Regions from separate parts of the Homo sapiens genome. Here region 1 is linked to region 2. The links are contacts of gene promoters, found by promoter capture Hi-C in blood cells and fetal thymus (Javierre and others, 2016). All regions are on one chromosome and are shown on one strand. Each heading gives the region's core, a stretch centred on a gene start or on the middle of the fragment in contact. The rest is flanking DNA. Distances are from core to core; before and after follow the strand shown.

Region 1 (2,700 bases), core at 136-2,635, 410 kb before region 2:
AAGCAGCTACATCCCCCACAGAGCAGATGAGGTATCAGACAGGAGGAAGTGTGACTTGTCCAAGGTCACAGGAGGAGCAACTTTAGAAGCCGGACCCACAAGCTCCAGTCTGTTATGGCTCCGCCCACAGTGCTGCCGAAGCTGTCACCTGCGTGAGTACCAGAGAGTAAGAAGCGAAGAATCTTGTTATTTATGCTCATGTTGCATAAAATGTTATGCTCAGATAGAGTCAGTTTACCTTTGTTTTTGTTTTTAAAATCTGCACAACTGATTTGCATAACTGTCAGGGCCATGGCCTGGCACCTGTTCCCCTGTGTGTACAACAGAAAGGAGACTTTTGCCTACAGTCGAGCATGTTTTACTTCCTTTCTCATTAGTTGCAGAAAGAGAGAGGACTGTGCCCAGCTTGGACTCCAGTTCAAATCCCACTAAAACATGCTGAATCCTCTGTTTGGCATAAAACACGCTGAATCCTCTGTTTGGCATAAAACACCCAACTCAGATTGTTGACATATATTCTCTTTTCAACAAACTGCATCTTCTCAAATAAGTGAGAAGACAAAAATCCATCGAGTTTCCTGGTTTCCAGAGGTAAGAGAATTCAAGAGCAAACACTTCAGCATGCTGGAGCTTAAGTTTCCAAGAAAAGAAATGAGGAGTTGCTGATTTGGAGAAAAGGCCCCAGGCTAGACATGACTAGCTTACCTGGGGTTGCAATTGCTTCTAGCTCATGTGGTAACCTTTCACAAGTCACTTCCCCTTGTAGAGTCTATTTCTACTTTTCTAAAACATAAGGGAGCCCAAACTTTGAAATGTTGTAATTCTGAAGCTTAGGTTCCTATAAAGGATGATAAACTCCAGAGTATTTGTATTTAATGAAGTTTAACACCAGGTTATAAAATAGAGCTTCCTGGGAGAATGAGCCATCATCTAAACCAGCAGAATTGAACAGAGTGTTTTACTTTGCATTAATATGTTCCCTTAGGGACAAGGACAAAACCCAACATTGTAAAAAATGTCTTGAATATTTGCATATTGCATATAGAATATTTGCATGCAGTATTTATGTAAAGCATGATGCTTATTTTTCAGGGTGGGAAGGGGGAAATCTAGTAACTTGCTCAGTATCAGGTGCTTTTCATACAGCATTGAATCTTCAGCAACCCAAAGATGCATGGTATTCATTGAACCTCTAGAGAAACTGAAGGCCAGAGTAGGGACTTACCCATAGTTACCTGGTAAAATGCAGGGATATCCTTATTCCTTTACAGCACTTTTCTCTCCTACAACTTAACAACATTCACAGTGTAAGAGATATGCCTGGAATAATGTAAAAGAAATGAATTTAGCTCAGTGGGTTTTTATTCATATTCCTCTCTAGGTGGAAGTTTAGACAAGGTGGCCTCTAAGATCCATTTCACCTTTTTCTTTTTTTTTTTCTTTTTTTGAGATGGAGTCTCGTTCTGTCACCCAGGCTGGAATGCAGTGGCACGATCTTGGCTCACTGCAACCTCCGCCTCCCGGGTTCAAGCGATTATCCTGCCTCAGCCTCCCTGAGTAGCTGGGATTGCAGGTGTGTACCTCCATGCCCAGCCAATTTTTGTATTTTTAGTGGAGATGGGGTTTCAGCCTGTTGGCCAGGCTGGTCTCGAACTCCTGACCTCGTGATCCACCTGCCTCAGCCTCCCAAAGTGCTGGGATTACAGGCGTGAGCCACCATGCCTGGCCCAATCCATTTGACTTTTAAACCCTAACTTTCAGTTACTCATTTAAACAGTATTTACCAAGATGAATTCTGAAACATAACACACCCAAGAAATATTCCAGGGAAAGCATGTTTTGTGGTCAAATATGTTTGGAAAATATTGCAAGTTGTATCCTCAATTAGAGACTTACAGTGCACATTACAAAATATCAAAGGCTCTGATAAGGCCTACAACAAAAGCTTGCATAACTGTTTGATCCATTTGCCAAAATTATTGCATTCTGAACCCACATAACACTTATGAACATTTAATGAAATGACTTTGCTATTTAACACACTTGGAAAGCATTAGAATAATTGTAAAGTTTATGAATCTGCATCTCCCTCGTGTCTTGCCTTCTATCCTCTCTGCGAGCAGAGAAACAGTGGCCCTCAGGAAGGGTCATGGGCAGGGAGAGAGGATGAGGGGAGAGAGTCCATTTAAGGTTAACCAGGGCTCGTGTCCAGCTTCTGCTTGGAAGACCGACTCACCCGCTGCTCTTAAAATGCTGGGAGAGTCCACTCATGAAAAGCAAGAACCTGGATCAACTCTGATTTCCTCCATGAGAAATAGTCATTGCTCCAGCAGTCTCGGAAACTTTGATACGATAAATATTTTGATGCTTTCTGTATATTTATATAAGCCCATTTATTGATGAAAACAAAATGTGTCACATTTCTGTTTTGATCAGCCCTTTTAAGGAATTTCCCCACTCCTTTCCATTCTAAGCTGGAAACACCCAAATCTATACACAATAGAGTCTCACTGGACATGTCATTTATGGAAGTTGTTCCCTTGACTTGACTTAGTTAATTCCAGTGCATCCTTTATATCACAGCTTATATGTCACTTCCTCCTGGACTGGTTCCCTGCCTGCAGACTAGATTTAGTCTGCTTTTTCTGCTTCTAGGACAGCCTGGGATAGTCTGTGAGAGCAGTCATTAGGGCTGATAAT
Region 2 (2,700 bases), core at 162-2,661:
AGTAGGGGGCTGGGATGTGGGGTAGGGGGTGGAGCTTCTGGACAGGAGACTTTGAACATGAGTGGTCACCTCCGAGGTCACCTGCATCCCCCAATTCCTGGAAGTGGGCAGGCCCTGGATACTTATTGAGGAATCTGGACAGAAAGGTTGAGAGGGCTGGGCGTCCAGACCTAGCTGGTCATTAAGGCAACAAGAACTGGTCTAATTGTGGGCTGGGCTGGATTATCACATCCCAAATCCTTAAATACCCAGAAACTCTCTTTTGGGATTTTGGACCTGGGTATGGGGTGGCTGCTGCCACTGCTGCAATGCTGTGGATTGCTGGGAGTGGGACAGCTGTGGCTGCAGCCACCGTTCTGCAAGCTTAATTCCTACCTTCGGAGGTTTCTCAGGTGGCCCTGGTGTACCTACCTGTGAACTTAGGCCACCCACAGGCTGAGGAGGGGCTCAATCACACAGCAATGTGCTGGGACCATGACTCCCTGGTGTCCCTAGAGGTCTGGAAGTGCTTTCATACCACCCACCCTCTCCAGGGATGCTCAGCTGCCACCTACAGGGAGGGCGGGGGTGGAAGAGCAGCAGTCATCACAGTCCATGTCCATGTGACAGGTAGGAAGACTGAGGCCCCAAAGGAGTGCCTTTTCTTGCACCCAATGGCATAGGGAGGCAGAATTTCCCCTGGGGAAAATAAAATAACGCCCCCACTCCGCCGCCTGCGCCCCCACACACCCCGTCCCCCACGCCCGGGTGGACCTAAGCAGCAGTTTTCTGAGCTTTCAGGAATTCCAGACTGAGTTCACTGGCTGTGAGACTAGCGGAGCCTTGAGAATGAATTCAAAGCTGGCAAATTCATTTTGCCTCCTCTCCCTCGGTGGTGGAAGGAGTGATCTCTCCGGCTCTGAAGGAGTTCAAGCCGAGGTCAGCGAAGCCCTCAGAAGGATGTTCTAAAATGGGGGTGGGGGGTAGTGCTCCGGCCTGCTTCCCCGGTTGGCCCAAGGTCCGCGCTGATCACCGCCCAAGAGGCCCAGGAGACCCGCAAATCTGTGCTGCACGTCCGCACTCCCATGCGGGCCTCGTCAATCAGGAGGCGGCTCCGGCCAGGCCTGGACATCTTCGGCCCGCCCCAGGCCCCGGGGGAGACCCCCGCCTGGGCCGCCTCCGGGTGCCCGCCCCCCGGCGGTGTCATTGTTCTCTGACGTCACGCCTCAGCCCCGCCCCTCTCCCCCCACCCTTCCTCCCCCACCTCCGGCTCCCCGCGCCCCCGACCCTGCAGCCTCCGAAGCCCCGGCCGTGCAAGGCTCCCCCCGCAGCCCGGCCGGGGCTGCGCCCCCTTGCGCTCTCCCCAACTTGCCTTTGTTATTCCAGCTCCCTTCCTCGCCTCGCCTCCGACACGGTGGCAGCCTGCAAAACGTGGAGCGCGGAGTCACTGCCACACCTGGAATCCGAAGCGGGCTCCGCCGGCTCCCGGCCGAAGCCGCCCCCGCCTGCCGGGGAGGGGAGCGCGTGCGTGGGCGGCGCGTGTGTGTCCAAAGAGGGCTGCGCGGGCGCCAATTATGATTGGGACTGGGGGTGCCGAAAATCAGGGGTGGGGGGCCTCGAGGAAGGGGTATGGAAGAGGAAGTGGGAGAGGAGGGCGTGTGTTTGTGTGTGTACGTTAACGTGAGGATTTAGTGCCCAGGGGAACGTTTCGTGTTTTGTTTTTTGATTGTATGTGGGGTTGTGTACAGCGATGTGTGTGTGTAACTGCGTGTCTCTGAGCGTGCCTGCTGTGGCCGTGTAAGCGGGCATCTTTGTGAGGGAAAGTAAGCGAGTGTGTGGGGGCGCGTTTGTGGTTTGGGGGGGAGCGTGTTTGCAATGCTGAGGGAGCGAACGTGTGTGCCGTTCTTGTAGGAGTTTCCGTGAGAGTGGCAGTGGACGTGAGCCAAAGTGGGCGCGTAGTTGGATGCTCTCGGGGGGGGGGGGTGGGTCGGCTAGGGGAACTCCCGCGAGTGGGTGCACCCAACTGCGCCTCGTGAGTACCTTAGCTCTCCGCTATCTCTGGCAGTGCCCAGTCCGGGGCAGAGGGCCAGGCCCCAGCCTAGCAGCTCCCACGCAGCCCGCGCGCACAGCGCCCCGGGCGCTCCGCGCCGGGCCTAGGGGAATCCACGCGTCTCTGGACTGTGCTAGGTGCCGCGGATCAACTGTGGCCACCACACCCCCGCTCCCCCACAGCTGTCGGGGGGCCGCGCTCTAGTCTCCCTCAAAGTCACCCTTGGTGGTGGTGGTCCTCTTCCCACCCCAACCACCAGTCCCCGGGCTGTAGGAACAATTCCAAAGTCAACCCCAGGGGAAGGCTTTGGAGGTCCAGTTACCAACTCGCTTACCCCAATTCGGGTACCTGACAGCGCCCGGGGCCACGAGTGCACTCCAGGCGGGGGCGTGCCAGCGCGGGGCAGGGGCTCTCGGGTGAGCAGTGTGATTTTGGCTTCCTCCCCAAGGTGGTCCCTACCTAGGCTCAGCATTTGTTCCCCTCTCCAAACTTACTGGGGCTGGGGCCTGCAGGGGGGCTGGGGGCTGCAGGGGGCGTCAGGGAGTAGCGGAGGGAGTAGGGCAAGGAGAGAGGTGAGTGGACTGGTGGCGTAGCGGGGAACCAGGAGCCAGGAGAAGAAAAGCTGGGAGAGCGCCGAGACCGAGGAGCGAGGAAGAGAGGAAGAGAAAGGA

Evidence for each region. The method cuts DNA at HindIII sites, captures the fragments that hold promoters and counts their contacts. A CHiCAGO score of 5 or more calls a contact.
Region 1: a contact is called between a fragment that was not itself captured here and the fragment with the promoter of ZMIZ1-AS1 in region 2, in 2 of 17 cell types (M2 macrophages and endothelial precursors). The highest score is 8.2, in M2 macrophages.

Annotation. Positions count from the first base shown.
Region 1 is chr10:78,658,713-78,661,412 of GRCh38, forward strand. LOC105378379 (a long non-coding RNA gene) reads right to left here. Exons shown (of 5, transcript XR_946100.2): 3 at 1,236-1,320. Among named protein-coding and RNA genes, the nearest start is that of LINC00595, 390 kb to the left of the region's middle. The HindIII fragment of the contact is 1,116 bases long and covers 828-1,943 here.
Region 2 is chr10:79,066,037-79,068,736 of GRCh38, forward strand. It overlaps ZMIZ1-AS1 (ZMIZ1 antisense RNA 1), which reads right to left and starts at 1,412. Exons shown (of 10, transcript NR_024431.2): 1 at 1,352-1,412; 2 at 412-550. RefSeq lists silencers at 971-1,180, 1,221-1,270, 1,371-1,580, 2,381-2,450, an enhancer at 1,844-2,689 and a cis regulatory region at 2,563-2,700. The HindIII fragment of the contact is 3,772 bases long and covers 362-2,700 here.